2 separate regions of the Homo sapiens genome follow, and region 1 is linked to region 2. The links are contacts of gene promoters, found by promoter capture Hi-C in human tissues and cell types (Jung and others, 2019). All regions are on one chromosome and are shown on one strand. Each heading gives the region's core, a stretch centred on a gene start or on the middle of the fragment in contact. The rest is flanking DNA. Distances are from core to core; before and after follow the strand shown.

Region 1 (5,512 bases), core at 2,835-5,334, 250 kb after region 2:
GATTCACAGGTATTTTCTGGCGCAGCTAGACTTCTTGTTGGCATTTCAGATTCTGTAGGATTTTTTTGTGACAGTGGCTGACAGCCTTTTTCCATAATTGTGCTATATCCAATGCTGGCCCTGGAAATAAATGGTGTTGCTCCACCAAATTAATCATAATAAAGAAAGGAAAAGAAAAATAAATAGAACAAGAAGAAAAAGATAGAAATAAGAAATTCTACCAAGCACAGTGGCTCACGCCTGAAATCCCAACACTTTGGGAGGCCAAGGTGGGTGGATCACCAGGTCAGGAGTTGGAGGCCAACCTGGCCAACATGGTGAAGACTGTCTCTACTAAAAATACAAAAATTAGCCGAGCGTGGTGGCGGGTGCCTGTAATCCCAGCTACTCAAGAGGCTGAGGCGGGGGAATCACTTGAACCTGGGAGGAAGAGGTTGCAGTGAGCCGAGATCTTGCCATTGCACTTCAGCCTGGGCAACAAGGGCAAAACTCCATCTCAAAAAAAAAGAAAGAAATAAAAAAGAAATTCCTAAAACAGAGGGAATCTATAGGTCACCTACAAAGAAATGAGAATCAAATGGTTCAGTAGCCAAATGAAGAAGAAGGCTGGATGACAATGTACCAACACCTTCAGTATTTGCAGAGAAAATGATTTTTTTTAAAGCTTTTTTGTTTTTAAATTTTTTTAAGAGACAGGGTCTCACTATGTTGCCCAGGCTGGTCTCAAACTTGTGGGCTCAAGCAATCCTCCCGCCTTGGCCTCCCAAAGTTCTGGGATTACAGATGTAAGCCACTGCACCCGGTCATTAACCTATTTTACACTCAAAAGTATTGTGTGCAAAATACATATTTTCCATTTTTGTTTGTTTGTTTGTTTGTTTGAGACAGAATCTTGCTCAGTCACCCAGGCTGGAGATCAATGGCACGATCTCAGTTCATTGCAACCTCCGCCTCCCAGGTTCAAGCAATTCTCCTGCCTCAGCCTCCTGAGTAGCTGGGATTACAGGTGCCCACCACCATGCTCTGCTAATTTTTGTATTTTTAGTAGAGACAGGGTTTTGCCATCTTGGCCAGGCTGGTCTCGAACCCCTGACTTCGTGATCCACCCACCTCGACCTCCCAAAGTGCTGGGATTACAGGCATAAGCCACCACACCCAACCCATATTTTCCTCTTAATTCAAGAACATTAGCAAGACTGTTTATTAGAATTTTCTCCTGAGCCGGGCGCGGTGGCTCACACCTGTAATTCTGGCACTTTGGGAGGCTGAAGCAGGCAAATTGTCTGAGCTCAGGAGTTCCAGACCAACCTGAGCAACATGGTGAAACCCCATCTCTACTAAAATAGAAAAAATTAACTGGGAATGGTGGTGTGTGACTGTAGTCCCAGTTACTCAGGAGGCTGAGGTAAGAGCATTGCTTGAACCCGGGAGCCACTGCACTCCAGCGTGGGCAACAAAGCCAGACTCCATCTCAAAAAGAAAAAAGGCCGGGCGTGGTGGCTCACACCTGTAATCCCAGCACTTTGGGAGGCAGAGACGGGCGGATCACGAGGTCAGGAGATCGAGACCATCCCTGGCTAACACGGTGAAACCCCGTCTCTACTGAAAATACAAAAAAATTAGCCGGGCGTGGTGGCAGGTGCCTGTAGTCTCAACTACTCGGGAGGCTGAGGCAGGAGAATGGTGTGAACCCAGGAGGTGGAGCTTGCAGTGAGCTGAGATTGCGCCACTGCACTCAATCCTGGGCGACAGAGCGAGACTCCGTCTCAAAAAAAAAAAAAAAAAAAAAAAGAAACAGAAGTCTCTCTTGAAACCTCCGTTTAGGAAGCTTCCTCCTGCCAGTTCCCTACCACTACAATTGGCGTTTTGCATCAACCAAGAAACCTATCTAAAATAAAAATAGGAAGTATAAAAAGGGTCAGGAAATACTGACCTTTTAACCATGCTGTCTTTTTGGTACATTTCCCAGACTAGCAGAGTCTATTAGAAGTGGAAGAAACCGCTGGGCGTGGTGGCTCATGCCTGTAATCCCAGCACTTTGGGAGGCTGCGGCGGGTGGATCACGAGGTCAGGAGTTTGAGACCAACCTGACCAACATGGTGAAACCCCGTCTTTACTAAAAATACAAAAATTAGCCGGGCATGGTGGCATGTGCCTGTAATCCCAGCTACTCAGGAGGCTGAGGCAGGAGAATTGCTTGAACCTGGGAGGTGGAGGTTGCGGTGAGCCGAGATCGCACCATTGCACTCCAACCTGGGCGACAGAGCAAGACTCTGTCTCAAAAAAAAAAAAAAAAAAAGAAAAAGGGCCAGGTGTGGTAGGTCACACCTGTAATCCCAGCACTTTGGGAGGCCGAGGCAGGCAGATCACGAGGTCAGGAGTTCCAGAACAGCCTGACCAACATGGTGAAACCCCATCTCTACTAAAAATACAAAAATTAGCCGGGCCTGGTGGCATGCGCCTGTAATCCCAGCTACTTGGGAGGCTGAGACAGGAGAATTACTTGAACCCGGGAGGCAGAGGTTGCAGGAGCCGAGATCGTGCCATTGCACTCCAGTCTGGGCAACAAAATGAGACTCTGTCTCAAAAAAAAAAAAAAAAAAAAAAAATCAGCTGGGCGTGGTGGTGGGCGCCTGTAATCCCAGCTACCGGAGAGGCTGAGGCAGGAGAATGGCGTGAACCCGGGAGGTGGAGCTTGCAGTGAGCAGAGATCGCGCCACTGCACTCCAGCCTGGGCAACAGAGCGAGACTCCGTCTCAAAAAAAAAAAAAAAAAAAAGTGGAAGAAATCAATTATTGTAGGGTTACATAATCAATTATGTATTACATTAGGAAACATTATTTTGAATTTAGAATTCGATCTTTAGTTCATTTATGAATTGACAGGTTAAAAAAAGACATTTAGCCTTGCAGGACTCAGAAAATGGAGGTTTCCTGGGCCCTGTCTAAGGAAGCCAAGGAGGCGGTCCAGCACACCAGACCCCCTGGCCCCTTGCTGCTCTTTCAACAAGCCAGATGCCTCCCCTCCTTAGGGCTTTTGTGTTAGCTCTTTCCTGCTCCCAGACAGGCTACCCATGATTGCCCTTAACATACTCCCTCACCTCCTGTAAGACTTTCCTCAAATGTCGCTTTCTCACTGAGACCTACCCTGATCACCCCATTAAAAATTACAACTCACACCTCTACACACATATATTCCTCATCCCCCGATCCTTCTCTACTTTAATCCTTGGCACTTTCTAATATGCTAAATAATGTAGCCATTTATTAAGCTTATTCATCAGCTATCTCCCCACCATCAGAATGCAAGTTCCTGAAGGGCAGGGTTGTTGTTGTTGTTGTTTGAGAGAGTCACACTCTATCGCCCAGGCTGGAGTGCAGTGGCGCGATCTCAGCTCACTGCAACCTCCGCCTCCCAGGTTTAAGCGATTCTCCTGCCTCAGCCTCCTGATTAGCTGGGATTACAAGCGTGCACCACCACCACCACGCCTGGCTAATTTTTGTATTTTTAGTAGAGATGGGGTTTCACCATGTTGGCCAGGCTGGTCTCGAACTCCTGACCTCATGATCTGCCTGCCTCGGCCTCCCAAAGTGCTGGGATTACAGGCGTGAGCCACTGCGCCTGGCTGGTTTTTGTTTTGTTTTGTTTTGTTTTGTTTGTTTTTGAGATGGAGTCTCGCTCTGTCGCCCAGGTTGGAGTCCTTTGGCGCCATCTCGGCTCAATTCAACCTCCGCCTCCCGGGTTCAAGCAATTCTCCTGCCTCAGCCTCCTGAGTAGCTGGGACTACAGGTGCATGCCACGATGCCCAGCTAATTTTTATATTTTTAGTAGAGACTGGGTTTCACCATATGGGTCAGGCTGGTCTTGAACTCCTGACCTCAGGTGATCCACCTGCCTCGGCCTCACTAAGGGCTGAGATTAGAGGTGTGAACCACTGCACCCAGCCTAGGGCAGGGGTTTTTGCTTTTTGTCTGTTTTTGGTCCTGCTGTATCTCCAGCTCCTATAATAGCCCAGTGCCTGGTTGGTGCTCAACCCATAATGTGTGTTGAATGAATGAGTGGAGTTCTTGAGGACTGGGAGCAGAATAACACAAGACTTGCAGGACAGGCCAGGTTTTCTGGTCTTACTCCCAAAGGAGAAAATGCTCGATTGGCTGGAATGAATTGCCATCTTGGAAAAATGGATAGTAGGCCAATCCTTTCCATTTCATCAAGACTTTAGCTCTGGTTCTTTCGTTTTTTGTTTGTTTGAGACAGAGTCTCGCTCTATTACCCAGGCTGGAGTGCAGTGGGGCGATCTTGGCTCACTGCAACCTCTACCTCCTGGGTTCAAGCAATTCTCATGCCTCAGCCTCCCAAGTAGCTGGAATTTCAGGCACATACCACCACGCTTGGCTACGTTTTTGTATTTTTTTTAGTAGGGACAGGGTTTCGCCAAGTTGCCCAGGCTGGTCTCGAACTCCTGAGCTCACGCAATCTGCCCACCTTGGCCTCCCAAATTGCTAGCATTACAGCTGCACCCAGCCTAGCTCTGGTTCTTAAGGAACATGGTCTGAATAGAGTCATTCACAGAATAAGGATTTGCACTGTGAGAGGATATTTAAATTGTAAGAGAATCTGCTGGGGGCAGGTGGTGCTTAAATCTAAATCCATTAACTTGTGAAGGTAGTCGGGATAACCCACTGGACCTCAGCATAGGGGTCACTCGACCTAAAGAAATTGCTCGCCTGATCCACTGGTGTGGAGTGGGCCTGTGGGTGAGGGACAGATTCCAGCCCATGGTGGTTTCAGTGTGTGATGAGTGAGATCATTCAGTAGAGGGCGCTGGGAGAACTGATGACTCGCACCGATCAGGAATATTGCATGCAATTTAGATCCAAGCGTAAAACACTAGACTACTAAAGTACTGGAAGCAAGCGTGAAGACCATTTTTATCACTGTAGCAGGACAAAGTCGTTTCAACAAGACATAAAATCCACTGGCCATAAGGAAAGGATTCACATTCAACAATATGATAAACTAGGTGAAACTTTTTGAAATTTGATTGTGATGAGGTGGTGATTTGATTTCACAGGTATATACAAATGTTTAATCAAACTTTACACTTTATGTGCAGATGTTGTATATCAATTATAGCTCAATGAAGCTTCTTTTTTTTTAAGAAGCCTGAGGGGAAAATGCCATAAAGTAAGTTAACAAAACAACAACAACAAAAAACAGATGACAAGCTAGGAGAAACCATTTGCACAACAAAAATAACAAAGCATATTCAAAAGAGGCTGTGGTAAGTCAACAGCAACATGGGCACAGCCTTGAACAATGAAAAAGGAATACAGTTGAGTCATAAGCATGAAAAGATGTTCAGCTGCCCCAGGAATTAAAGAAGTGCAGACTGAAACATCAAGTAACATTTTTCACCCATCAGGTAGGCAAAAATTAAAACCATTGATTTAACCCTGTAGAGGTGATGGGGCAGTTGTGGCAGTGGTGGGGCGCAGTCTGTAGGAGTGGG
Region 2 (5,066 bases), core at 723-3,222:
GGCAAAACCCCATCTCTACTAAAAATACAAAAATTAGCTGGGCATGGTGGCAGACGCCTGTAATCCCAGCTACTTGGGGGGACTGAGGCAGGAGAATCGCTTCAACCTGGGAGGCAAAGGTTGCAGTGAGCTGAGGTCACACCCCTGCACTCCAGCCTAGGCGACAGAGCAAGACTCTGTCTCAGGGGAAAAAGAAAAAAAAAGGGTAACATGGTGATGTGAACTTTTGAAATTTTCTCTTTAGTATATAAGTTTAGTTTTGCTTTATAGTTGTGCATTCTCCAGCAGCGGTGGGAGTGGGGAGGGGATATTCTAAATGCCAAGGTGACCTGGCCCGCTGACCACAGAGCCCAAGGCCTTCCATGGAAACACCATCCACCCACTGTGTCTTACTTTCATACCCTCATCGTCCGGAAATGCAGTACAGCCTGTCCTGTCCAGCCTTGCCCCAGGTGACTGTGGTCACTATATTACATGCTCATCTGTGTCGTGTGTGTCTGTCATGAGCGTCTCAGGCCCATAAGGGCAGGGATGCTGCGGGCTCTGTCCCCTGAATATCTGCCCACAGGGTGCTGAGGATCCCTTGGCCTTCACTTTCTGCCCAGTCACCGACCTGTCACCCACACCTGTCTTTCCTCCTTGTTTTGTGACAATGAAAAAAGTTTTTCTGCTTCCTCAAAATTTATTTTCAGACAGGCGCAGTGACTCACGCCTGTAATTTCAGCACTTTAGGAGGCCAAGGCCACAGGATCACCTGAGGCCGGGAGCTCAAGAGGAGCCTGGCCAACGTGGTAAAACCCTGTCTCTACTAAAAATACAACAATTGGCCAAGTGCGGTGGCTAACGCCTGTAATCCCAGCACTTTGGGAGGCCGAGGAAGGTGGATCACCCGAGATCAGGAGTTTGGGACCAGCCTGGCCAACATGGTGAAACCCCGTCTCTACTAAAAATATAAAAATTAGCCAGGTTTGGTGCTATGCCTGTAATCCCAGCTACTCAAGAGGCTGAGGTGGGAGAATTGCTTGAACCTGGGAGGTGGAGGCTGCAGTGAGCCAAGATTGTGCCACTGCACTCCAGCCTAGGCAGCAGAGCAAGACCCCATCTCAAAAAAAAAAAAAAATAGCTGGGTGTGGTGGGCACCTGTAATCCCAGCTACTTGGGAGGCTGAGGCAGGAGAATCAGTTGAACCCGGGAAGAGGAGGCTGCAGTGAGCTGAAATTGCGCCACTGCACTCCGGCCTGGGTGACAGAGTGAGACTCCATCTTAAAAAGTTTGTTTTCTGTGTCATTTTATGGTGCGGAATCCAAGTTCCATTTTGTAAGAAACTGAAACTTTATGAAATGATTAGTTCCTTATATCATGAGTCATTGCAGAAAAAGTGAATTCTGTTGGGTTCTACAGCACAGGTGGGACGCGTGTCAGTGGCTTTGCCCACCTGTTACGGCCACCAGCGGGTTGGTCCTTGTCACCCAGACCCTCGCCACAGTCAGAAGTGGCTTGGCTTCACTGGTGACTTGCAGTGACACTCTGGAGAATCCACGATGCCCTGAGTCACCCTTTGCTTCTAGGACAGTGTTAGGCGGAAACACCCTTCACTGAGAGCCTGAGTTCCCGGAGACCTGGTTCCATGACAGCAGCTGGTCCTCCACGAGCCCTGGGGTGGAACTGCCTCCACTTCCCCTCTGGGAACAGAAGAGCCTGGTGCCGTCTCCTGGCAGGGATACTGCAGCTCACAGCTGGCTCTGTGGGATCATGTCCCCAAGGCTGACCGGTGATGTCAGCGCAGCTGCCCCTTTCCCAGGGACTGGGGTTGTCTGGTAGAGAGCCAGGCGGGGCTCTGTCTCCACTTATTGCCCAAGGTCCCTGGGTAACAGGGAGGGTGGGCTCAGGCCTCCCTGGCTGGGGGAGCGGGGGGGGCTGGGCTCCCTGCCCCCCCAAGGTGGTAAAAGGGGCCCCGCAGCTGGCAGGCCCCACACCTTCTGAGGCAGCGGCATGGCTTCCCTCTGGCTCCTCTCCTGCTTCTCCCTTGTGGGGGCCGCCTTTGGTGAGTGCTGGTGCCCGAGGGGTCTGTCCTGAGGGAGCCCTGAGCCTGGCTGAGAGGGGGATCTGAGTCCCCTGCTCTGCCCCCTGGGGCCTCATCCCCAGCACAGGTAACCTGAGGGCTCAGGAGAGGGTGCATTCTGGGGCTTTCTGAGCCCACACAACCTGCTCCAGGAGTGGGAAGGACGATGCTGGTCTCTGCCATGGTCTGAGGCTCCAGAAGTGGCTGGGGTGGGGGTGCCTTGTGCAGGGTAAGGTGTGGCCCCAGGAGACCTCCCAAGGCCTCCACCGGGGTTTTTATTGTGCTGGGTACTTGTCAAGCATTTTCTTCCTTTCTTTCTTTTTTTTTTTTCGAGACAGAATTTCACTCCTATTGCCGAGGCTGGAGTGCAATGGTGCAATCTCCACTTACTGCAACCTCCATCTCCTGGGTTCAAATGATCTTCCTGCCTCAGCTTCCCGAGCAGCTGGGACTACAGGCATGGACCACCAACCCTGGCTAATTTTTAGTAGAGACGGGCTTTCACCACGTTGGCCAGGCTGGTCTTGAACTCCTGACCTCAGGTGATGCCCCCGCCTCGGCCTCCCAAAGTGCTGGGATTACAGGCATGAGCTACTGTGCCCAGCCGTGTTTTCTATTTTTTAAAAGAGAAATAGTAAAAGAAAATACAGAAAAGAATATGACATCCTTGTATCTACTGTCAGAATTCAGCAAATCTTTTTGCACATTTGCTTCAGATATTTCTAAAACAGATTGTACTCAGGCTTCCCTTTTCTCCCTCCTTCCCTCTCTGGAATGTGAGCTTGATTCTGAACTTTCTATGAATAATTGCAGTGTGAGCTTATACAATTGTACTACATATTTTTATACATCTATACATAAGGTTTCAAAAAGGTTACATCAATGGAACGGTATTCTATCCTGTTTTTGGTTTTGGTTTTGGTTTTGGTTTTGAGACAGGGTCTCACTCTGTCACCCAGGCTGGAGTGCAGTAGTGTGAGTTTGCAGCCTCAAACTCAAGGGCTCGAGTGATCCTCCCACTATAGCCTCCCGAGTAGCTGGCGCTACAGGCACGCTAAGTTTAAAAACTTGTTTTGTTTTGTAGAGATGGAGGTTTTTTTTGTTATTTTTTTTTCTTTTCTTTGAGACAGAGTTTCACTCTTGTCACCCAGGCTGGAGTGCAGTGGCGTGATCTTGGCTCACTGCAACCTCCGCCTCCTGGGTTCAAGCATTTCTCCTGCCTCAGCCTACTGAGTAGCTGGGATTACAGGCATGCATCACCACACCTGGCTAATTTTTGTATTTTTAATAGAGATGGGGTTTCACCATATTGGTCAGGCTGGTCTTGAACTCCTAACCTCCAGTGATCCGCCCACCTCAGCCTCCCAAAGTGATGGGATTACAGGCGTGAGCCCCCATGCCCGACCTGGGGTCTTATTATGTTGTCCAGGCTGGTCTCGAAATCCTGTGCTCGAGTGATCTGCTCACCTCAACCTCCCAGGGTGCTGGATTACAGGTGTGAGCCACTGTGCCTGGCTGATGTAACTAATACTCCATTCTACCTCCATTCTACAACAATGTGCTTTTTCCCTACTCAAATCTTCTCACTTCCTGCATGTTGACGTGGAGTTTCAGCTCATTCACCTGCATTTTTATAATGCGTGCTCTGTTGTGTGAGTATGCCACCATCTAGTTCTCTTATTTATTTATTTATTTTTTTAGATGGAGTTTCACACTTGTCGCCCTGGCTGGAGTGCAGTGGCATGATTTCGGCTCACTGCAACCTCCACCTCCCAGGTTCAAGCATTTCTCCTGCCTCAGCCTCCTGAGTAGCTGGAACTACAGGCATGAGCCACCACCCCAGCTAATTTTTGTATTTTTAGTAGAGACAGGGTTTCATCATATTGGCCAGGCTGGTCTTGAACTCCTGACCTTGTGATCCACCTGCCTCGGCCTTCCAACGTGCTCTTTCTCATTTTTTTGCTATTACAATACCAGTTTTTGATGCTCTGAAACGTCAGGGAGGCACCTTGCCTGCCTGTGTTCCTGTGGGCAGGAGACGCAGGGGCTGCCTTGTAAGCAGGCGAATATGACCCCAGAAGGGGACAGCTGGTCTGAGGGACGCGGGTGTGCTCAAATGTAAAGCCCAGTTTGTTGGGTTGGCCCGCGCACAGGAGTCGAGAATCTGGTCCTGACATAGCAGAGGCATGGTGGGCGTGTGTGGAACACCTGACTATTTTCATTGTTTTGTTTTCTGCTTCCAATGTGCCATTTTATGGTGTGGAAGTAAAGTCCAGCTGTGTTTGTTTTGATTTTTTCTTGAGATGGAGTTTGGCTCTGTCACCCAGGCTGGAGTGCAGTGGCACGATCTCAGCTTACTGCAACCTCTGTCCCCCAGGTTCAAGCGATTCTCCTGCCTCAGCCTCCCAAGTAGCTGGGATTGTAGGCCTGTGCCACCATGCCCGGCTAATTTTTGTATTTTTAGTAGAGATGGGGTTTTACTATGTTGGCCAGGCTGGTCTTAAATTCCCAACCTCAGGTGATCCACCCCGCTTGGCCTCTCAAAGTGTTAGGATTACAGGCGTGAGCCACTGTGCTGGCCAAAGTCCAGTTTTATTAAATAAGAAACCAAGACCGGATATATGGGGGCTCATGCCTGTGATCTCAGCATGTTGGGAGATCAAGGCAATAGGATTGCTTCAGCCCGGGAATTTGAGGTTGCAAGGCTGGGCACGGTGGCTCACGCCTGTAATCCCAGCACTTTGGGAGGCCGAGGCGGGTGGATCACAAGGTCAGGAGATCGAGACCATCCTGGCTAACACGGTGAAACCCCGTCTCTACTAAAAATACAAAAATTAGCTGGGCTTGGTGGCGGGCACCTGTAGTCCCAGCTACTCGGGAGGCTGAGGCAGGAGAATGGCGTGAACCCAGGAGGCGGAGCTTGCAGTGAGCCAAGATTGTGCCACTGTACTCCAGCCTGGGCAACAGAGCAAGACTGTCTCAAAAAGAAAAAAAAAAAAAAAAA

Evidence for each region. Contacts are between HindIII fragments. The study calls those that stand out against the background at their distance.
Region 1: a fragment that was not itself captured here is called in contact with the fragment with the promoter of CTRB1 in region 2 in 3 of the 25 tissues and cell types used here (lymphoblastoid cells, mesenchymal stem cells and stomach).

What each region holds. Positions count from the first base shown.
Region 1 is chr16:75,467,138-75,472,649 of GRCh38, forward strand. It overlaps CHST6 (carbohydrate sulfotransferase 6), which reads right to left. Exons shown (of 3, transcript NM_021615.5): 3 at 4,915-5,512. Among named protein-coding and RNA genes, the nearest start is that of TMEM170A, 5.2 kb to the left of the region's middle. RefSeq lists an enhancer at 4,512-5,154. The HindIII fragment of the contact is 5,677 bases long and covers 1,247-5,512 here.
Region 2 is chr16:75,217,016-75,222,081 of GRCh38, forward strand. It overlaps CTRB1 (chymotrypsinogen B1), which reads left to right and starts at 1,973. Exons shown (of 7, transcript NM_001906.6): 1 at 1,973-2,044. The coding sequence starts at 1,993. RefSeq lists an enhancer at 1,511-1,590. The HindIII fragment of the contact is 13,252 bases long and covers 1-3,467 here.